2 separate regions of the Homo sapiens genome follow, and region 1 is linked to region 2. The links are contacts of gene promoters, found by promoter capture Hi-C in blood cells and fetal thymus (Javierre and others, 2016). All regions are on one chromosome and are shown on one strand. Each heading gives the region's core, a stretch centred on a gene start or on the middle of the fragment in contact. The rest is flanking DNA. Distances are from core to core; before and after follow the strand shown. Region 1 overlaps NXTAR (negative expression of androgen receptor regulating lncRNA). Region 2 holds the start of AR (androgen receptor).

Region 1 (3,987 bases), core at 558-3,057, 230 kb before region 2:
ACTTGTCTAGGCCCCTCCTGCATATCTCCTATGATAAGGAGTTCACTCCATCTAATGACAACCTGTTTCATTTATAGGCTGCTCAGTTAAAAAGTCCTTCCTTGTGTTGAGCTGAAATTTGTTTCCTGCTGGTTCCCACCCAAGGGTCTCATTTCTGCCTTCTGAAGCCTCTCAGACTCCATCTGCTCTCTCTGTTCCTGACAATATCTTAGAGGTCTACAAAAAGAGCACTTCTCTTAAGTCTTCTCTTCTCCAGCTGATAGGATTTGGATGTTTGTCTCCTCCAAATCTCATATTGAAATGTGGCCTCCAATGTTGGAAGTGGAGCCTAGTGGGAAGTATTGGATCCTGGGGTCAAATCCCTCACGAATGGCTTAGCACTAGTTCCTTGGTGATGAGTGAGTTCTCGCTCAGTTAGTTCATGAAAGATCTGGTTGTTTAAAAAGGTCCAGGACCCCTCTTCACTCTCTTGCTCCCTCTTCTTCCTCCGCCATGATCGTAAACTTCCTGTGGCCTCACCAGGATTCAAGCAGACAGCAGCACTATGCTTATGCAGCCTGCAGAACCATGAGCCAATTAACCTATTTTCTACATAAATTACCTAGTCTCAGGTATTCCTTTATAGCAACACAAAATGGACTAAAACACTAGCATAAATGGCCACAGCTCCAAATTCTTTCAGCCGCACCCTTGTCTGTTCACTCCCTTCTGTACACATCCTACATATGACCCACTTAATGTATGGTAGTCCGAGCCAAAAGGAAGTCCCTCAGTAAGGGTCTAACCACTACAGAGTGGAAAGGGACTGTTGCTTCCCTTGATCTAAACACTATACATATGTTGTTGCAGCCTAAGTTCCCATTAGATTTTTTGGGCTTTATCATCTCAGTGATGATGCCTATAAGGGAAAGTCTCAAGTTCCTTTTCTGCAAACTGTGTATAGGACAGTCTATTCCACCCTGTGAATAGTCAGTTGGTTTTCTGCACTCAATTGCAGGCCTCTCCATTTGTAACTGTCAATCATCTGGTCAGGTTCAACCACTTACTTCAGCCTGTTGACATCTTTTTGGAGCCTAACTCCATGGCCTGAAATATTCCTCCCTCCTTTTCAGCTTTCAAACTTTAGTAATAATTTCCTCTCTTCTCTCTACATGAGCCTGTTTTGCTATTTTGTTGAGACATCAAGTCCCTCATTCATTCCTTCAGGAGGGTAGGGGCCACCTTCTCTGGGTGCTCCTGGGGGCAGTTCTCAAGGCCTGTGGCATGAAAACGACTTTGATCAGTGAGAACCAGCAGCTCACTGCTGCTCGGTGGAGAAGGCAGCTCCAATAGCAACATCTCCCTCAGCCTACCTGGGCCTCTGCCAGGGAGAACCCCACATACTGGCTGGCTCATTCAGATGTGGATAAAGTAAGATTTCCAGTTGGCTGCCAGAGATGAAGCCCTGGGATATCAGGCCAAGCAAGGGCACATCAGCACATCAACCTGATTCCTCTGATGGCTCAGAAGTTTTCAGGATCAATGGGCCTCTAGTCATTTATGTCACAACCCCTTCTTCATCCTTGGAGGGCTGGCCTGATTCCAATATTGACTGTCAGCACTCAGCTTTTTAAAACCGGCCGTATTTCTGACAGTCTTGGAGAAAAGACTGATGGCAAAAAGGGCTGTAATATTCCAAGAGCCTCCTTCTTACCAGTCCCCTTAACAGCTTATATCTTTTTATGTTAACACTTTATTTTAGAAGAATACATACACATGGTCAAATATTTTAAAAAAAGGAAGGAAAGTTCAAGATTCTTACAATCCCACCATTCAGGCATAAACCATTATTTGACGTTTTGTTGAAAATCTTATATTGGCAAACACACACACGCTCGTGTGTGTGTGTGTGTGTGTAATGCAACGTTATATTATTGAAAATATGCATTGGCAAAACATTCTGATCTAAAGTATCATTCCTAATGACATAATATCCCATAGGTACTTCTCTTGGGAGATATTTAGGTTGCTTCTAATTTTTCTTTCTTTTTAGCTTTTATTTCAGGTTCAGGGGTACATGTGCACATTTGTCATATAGGTAAATTTGTGTCATGGGTTTGTTGTACAGATTATTTTACACCCACGTGCTAAGCCTAGCAACAATAGTTATTTTTTCTGGTGCTCTCTCTTCTCCCACTCTCCACCCTCAAGTAGGCCCCAGTGTCTATTGATTCTTTGTGTCCATGAGTTTTCACCATTTATCTCCTACTTATCAGAAGAACATGCAGTACTCGATTTTCTGTTCCTGCATTAGTTTGCTAAGGGTAATTGCCTACATTTCCACTGATATTCCTGTGAAAGACACAATCTTGTTCTTTTTTTATGGCTGGATAGTATTCCATGCCATATATGTGCCACATTTTCTTTATCCAGACTATCATTGATGGGCATTTAGGTTGATTTCATGTCTTTGCCATTGTGAATAGTGCTGCGATGAACATTCATGTGCATGTATCTTTATAAAAGAACCATTTATATTTCTCTGGGTATGTACCCAGTCATAGGATTGCTAGGTCAAATGATACTTCTGTTTTTAGCTCTTTGAGGAATTGCCACACTGCTTTGACAATGATTGACCTAATTTACACTTCCATCAATGATGTATAAGCATTCCCTTTTCTCTGGAACCTCATCCCCATCAGTTATTTTTTGACTTTAATAATAACCATTCTGATATGTGAGATGGTATCTCATTGTTGTTTTGATTTGAATTTCTCTAGTTTTCAGTGACATTGAGCTTTTTTTATATGCTTGTTGGTCACATGTGGGTTTCCTCCTCCTCCTCCTCCTCCTCCTCCTCCTCCTCCTTCTTCTTCTTCTTCTTCTTCAGACAGAGCCTTACTCTATTGTACAGGCTGGAGTGCAGTGGCACAATCTCGGCTCACTGCAACCTCCGCCTCCTGGGTTCAAGTGATTCTCCTGTCTCAGCTTCTCGAATAGCTGGGATTACAGTTTGTTTATTTTCTCATAAATTGGCAAGTTCTTTATACATGCTGGATATTAGACCTTTGTCAGATGGATAGTTTGCAAAAATTTTCTCCCTTTCTGTAGGTTTTCTGTTTAATCTGATAGTTGCTTTTGCTGCACAGAAGGTCTTAATTTTACATTCCATTTGTCAAGTTTTGCTTTTGTTGCGATTACTTTGGTGTCTTCATCATGAAATCTTTGCCCGTTCCTTTGTCCTGAATGGTATTGTCTAGGTTGCCTTCCAGGGTTTTTATAGTTTGGGGTTTTACATTTATCTCTTTAACCAATCTTGAATTGATTTTTGTATATGGTGCAGGAAGGGGTTCAGTTTCAATCTTCTGCATATGGCTAGCCAGTTATTCCAGGACCATTTATTGAATAGAGAGTCCTTTACCTATTGCTTGTTATTGTTAATGGTGTAGGTGTGTGGCCTTATTTCTGGGCTCTCTATTCCATTCCCTGGGTCTATGTGTTTGTTTTGTACCAGTACCATGCTGCTTTGGTTACTGTAGCCCTGCAGAAGAGTTTGAAGTCAGGTAACGGGAAACCTCCAGCTTTGTTCTTTTTGCTTAAGATTGTCTTGGCTATTCGGGCTCTTTGTTGGTTCTGTATGAATTTTAAATAGTTTTTCTAGTTCTGTGAAGAATGTCATTGATAGTTTGATAGGAATAGCATTGAATCTATAAAGTGCTTCAGCTAGTATGGCCATTTTAATGATATTGATTCTTCTTATCAATGAGCATGGAATGTTTTTCCATTTTTTGGTTTCATCTCTGATTTCTTTGAGCTTAATTTTCATTATAGAAATCTTTCACCTTCTTGGTTAGGTGTATCCCTATGTATTTTATTCTTTTTGTGGCAATTGTGAATGAGATTTTTGTTCCTGATTTGGCTGTCAGCTTAGGTATTGTTGGTGTATAGGAATGCTCATGATTTTGGGACATTGATTTTCTATCTTGAGACCTTTCTGAAGTTGTTTAT
Region 2 (4,502 bases), core at 1-2,500:
GGTGCCTGGGGCCCGGGTTCTGGATCACTTCGCGCACGCTCTGGAACAGATTCTGGAAAGCTCCTCGGTAGGTCTTGGACGGCGGCCGAGGGTAGACCCTTCCCAGCCCTAACTGCACTTCCATCCTTGAGCTTGGCTGAATCTTCCACCTACTTCCCTTACCCCGCCTCCCCTTCTCTTGCTCAGAAGAGTTCAACAGGCTGTGATGATGCGGTAGTCGCTGCAGCTAGCTGCCCACCTGCGGGAAGCTCCAGAGAAGGAAACTTGCGGGAGCAACCACGCAAAAAGCGCTCTGACAGCCTCAAAGTCTCGTGCAGAAGAAGACACACGGTGGACAAGATCTGCCCTGCTAGGCTCACAGTCTGTCTCTTAATACTTGAAGGGTAGATTCAAAAGATGCCCAGATCTTAAAAGAAAAAAACAAAATCCTCCACCTTCCAAATTCAGTGTCCACTGAAGTAGGTGCAAATAAGAACTGAGTTATTATCTTTTTCTTTTATTTCGGCTTTTTTGTTTTTGTTTGTTTTGTTTTTTGGCTACTGAAGACCTGACTGCCTTTTCATCTTTTGATCTCTGGCTCCGCACTCGGGGTGGGGAAGGCAGGAGGAGGTGGAGAGAGAGTGGGGGAAAACAGAGGGTTCTCTCCGCGTGCAGCCTAACCAGGCGGGTCGTGGCTGCAGTGCTGAAGCCGCTCCCCAGTCGCCTGGCTCCTAAGAGCCTTCTTTGCAATGTGCAGCTAGCTCGCCCGCTCGCAGCCAAAGGGAGTTACCTCTCTGCAAACTCGGGCTGGCAGCGCTGGGCCGACGGGGGCGGGGGGGCGGGTGGGGAGAAGGGTGGTGAGGGGGGTTGGCTGAGAGTAGCCGACTGAGGCAGCTGCGGGAGAGAAGACGGGGGAGGGGGGGAAGGCAGGGTGGGGGGAGGCGGGGTGGAGAGGAGGAGGACAAAGGCAGCCGTCAGTCCTACCAGGCACTTTCCTTGCTTCCTCCGAGTCTTTAGCAGCTTTTAAAAACTTCACCGAAGAGGAAAGGGCAGCTCCGGGCGGCGGCTTCGAAGCCGCCGCGCTGCAAGAGGCGTTGGCTGTCGCTGGAGCCGGGCTGGGGCTGGCGTGGTGCGTCCCTTCGGCTCCTGTACAGCACTGGAGCGGCTAGCTCGGCCCTTTTTCCCTCTGTCGCCTCCTCTGCCTCTGGGCTTGCTCCGGACCGTCCCGCTCTCCCAGCAAGCTGGCTCCCCGGGATCTCGGAGGGGGCGCTGGGAGGTGGAGAGCAAATGCAACAGTTTGCGAGTCGGGTCCCGCCCCCACCGGGCCGGCCTCCTTGCCTTCCCACCTCCTTTTCCCTCCCCTCCCCTTTCCTTTTCTCCCCTCCCCTCACCGCGCGCTAACGCCTGCCTAGTGGCTTTGGAGAAACAAGTGCTGGCGCAGCGTGGGCGAGGGCAGGAGAGGCTAGCTCTAGCCCTGGAGGACCCCTGCTTCCTGAATAGCTCCTGCTTTCCTAAACCAAGGTTTAGGCGCCAGGGCTCCAGATTTCCTGGAGGCCAGCACTCACCAAATTTGGTTCCAAAGCCCAATCTAAAAAACCAACAGGGTGGAGGCGAGGGAGGGAGGAAAAGGACGATAGGAATACCTGCTCCTGGCTGCCAGGGGTTCTTTTCAGGACTGATAAGAGCGCGCAGATGGGAGAGTGGGAGAGTCTCCTACAAACTGAGGAGCAAGCCATGACCAAGCCAGCAGATACTTGCTGAAACCTTAGATTCCGTCATAGGGATAGATCGGGCCTCGTGGCATTGTGCCATTTGCTCTAGGAACCCTCAGCCCCAAGAATCAGAGGTCATTTCTACCCTCTTCTCTGCCTTTCTTCCTGTCTGGAATTGCCTTTAACCATGCATTTCTCATCCAGACTCTCAAAGGCAAAATCACCCAGACAAGCAGGTAAACACACAAACACTAAAAACACTTGCCATGTACACATAGGCGCTCAATTTTGTCCAGAGCTCTGTAAACGTTTGCTTTGTATGCAGCCGCTTGCTTTTCCAAGTTGCCTTCGCATATTTTAAACTTTACAACTGGAACTATCCAAGGATAGAACCTATATAGGGCTGCTTTTCGCCTCTTGATGGACAGCCAGGCGTAGAGGATGATGTGGGTTACTGCAACTGCTCTTTTGTGGAGGAGGTCCCATAAGCCCTGTGTAAAGGTGGAGATGCAAGTGGGAATGGAAAGAGAGAGAAAATGTAAACGTAAACCTATAAGGAAAACATCTTTCCTTTATGTCAGTAGAGACCCTGGGCCTCCCTATGTTTTAAATTCCTTTGACTTCTGATTCTGGGGAGGCTCTCTGTTCCAAAAGTCATTCCGAGATTTTTGCCTGGGTCTCTTTTGCTTTTTGCAGTCTTCTACAGAGAAAAGATGGGTTGTAGCTTTGTTGTAGCTTTATCTTGTGCACAGCCAAACATCATAGGCATTTACTTACCTTGACCAAAGAAGGTAACTCAAACCTAAAGGCAAGGAAGACTGGATATGATAGGCTCTATTTCACAGATGAACAGGCTGAAACAAGGACATAATTTGTTCTATGTTCCACATTAGTAAAACCTAAACTAGTCTTCCAGTCCATTGCTATTTGAGCTAGACTCTAGACTCATCAATCGCATTGTCATTTGGGAAATGGCTATAAATGAACCTTCCAGAACACAAAGGCCTGAAGACCCTTTCACCTGAGGAGGTGAAAAATTATTTCCTGAGATTTTAATGGCTACAGCCTTCCTTGAATATACCTCACCATATGTAAGTAGAATGCGTAGATACTTCAACCTCATTTGAATACTCATTGCAACATTTAATCCCACCACAACTTTCAACTAGCATTGCTCAATAGGAATTGAGTGGGCTGGCAGGATGGTAGAATGGAATTAACATAGGTCTCAGAGCCAGGAGAACTATGTGTCTACACACTAACAGTGAAGGAAGGTGCAAAAATCACTGAATGAACAATGGACAGGAGTGAAGAGGACACATAGACACAAAGAGGCCTGAAAAAAAATTAAGGTGAGAAATAATGCTCTGAAGTTACTCTGAATAAAAAGCAGTCTGACATTCAAACCTGGGTCTGAAAGACTCCAAAGTTTATGTTGCTTCCACATCACCAACATTGTCTTCACAGTTTCCACATCTGAAAACTGTTGCCAATATAAGTTACCCTCAGAAGGCTAGTGTGTCATTTAAAAGACATAATGTGTATAGAACAAACTTGTAAACAGGAAAGCATTCTACAAATCTGAAGGATTACTATGTTATTTTTATTTTTAAAGATGGTGCTGTCAACAATTATATCATTATCAGGAAAGGTTAACTACTATAAGCATATTAGGGCCATATACTTTATTTGGATTTTGAACTCTGATCTTCCAGCTCAAATCTCATTTTCTTCCCATTGCTTTTAAGAACAAGAGACAATTATTGATTAATATTATATAAGTTCACTGTTTGTACCAGCTTTCTTCTTCTTTCTCCTCCTGTTCTTTGCAGTTTTTTAGTAATCAAATGGAACCAGAGGTGTTCTCTCAGATTAGTCAGGTTGAGAGTAAGTTTCTGCTATAAGCTTCCTCTGCAACTTCAAGAGGGATTTATTAATAAAGTCTTCCCTAGCTCTTTGCTCTGGAAAGCCAGGATGAGCTGACCTTTGGAAAATGGTGACCATCGGGTTTTATTTCCTAAGTATCTCACACATCTGCCCATTTATTTCATCTCTGTTGTTGCCAACCTAGTTCACTTCCAGAAGGCACCGTTCTCTTCCACCTGGAGCACTGTAAATGGTCATCCTCCCTCCACTCTTTCCTAGAATCAGTTCTGCATTGTGCAGCCAGAGGGTTTCTTTTTAATAGCCGTACTGAGGTATAATTGATATATACAATAAACTGCACATATTTAAAGTTGCATAAATTGATCATTTTTGACACACGCGTGCACTCATGAAATCATCACTCAATCAAGATAGTGAATATATCTATGATTCCAAAAGTTTTTATTGTGCCACTTTGTACATTTTCCCTCCACCTCTCCTATACTCCTCCTCCTCAGGCAACCAATGATCTGCTTTCTGTCAGTATAGACTGTTTTTCACTTTCCAGAGTTTTATGTCAATGGAACTATACAGCATGTACTCTTTTTTTTTTTTACTTGCATCTTTCACTGAGCACAATGCCTTTGATGTACATTTAAGCTGTTATGTATATCACTAGCTCATTCTTCTTTATTGCTAAGTAGTATTCTATTGCATTGCTGTACCACGCTTTGTTTATCCATTCACTTTTGATGGACATTTGGGTTCTTTTCAGTTTGGGGCTACTACAAATAAAACTGCTATAAATATTTGTATAAACATCTTTGTATGGATGTATTCTTTCATTTCTCTCAGGTAAATACTTAGCCATGGAATGGGTGAGTCACAGGGTAGGTATACACCTACTTTTGTAAGAAACTTCCAAATCATCTTCCTAAGTGATTG

Evidence for each region. Contacts are between HindIII fragments. The CHiCAGO score rates a contact against its expected background, and 5 or more counts as called.
Region 1: a contact is called between a fragment that was not itself captured here and the fragment with the promoter of AR in region 2, in 1 of 17 cell types (megakaryocytes). The highest score is 5.4, in megakaryocytes.

Annotation. Positions count from the first base shown.
Region 1 is chrX:67,774,363-67,778,349 of GRCh38, reverse strand. All of the region lies in intron 1 of NXTAR (negative expression of androgen receptor regulating lncRNA), which reads left to right. Among named protein-coding and RNA genes, the nearest start is that of NXTAR, 8.5 kb to the left of the region's middle. The HindIII fragment of the contact is 9,737 bases long and covers 1-3,987 here.
Region 2 is chrX:67,540,769-67,545,270 of GRCh38, reverse strand. It overlaps AR (androgen receptor), which reads right to left and starts at 1,250. Exons shown (of 8, transcript NM_000044.6): 1 at 1-1,250. The coding sequence starts at 124. The HindIII fragment of the contact is 7,103 bases long and covers 1-3,598 here.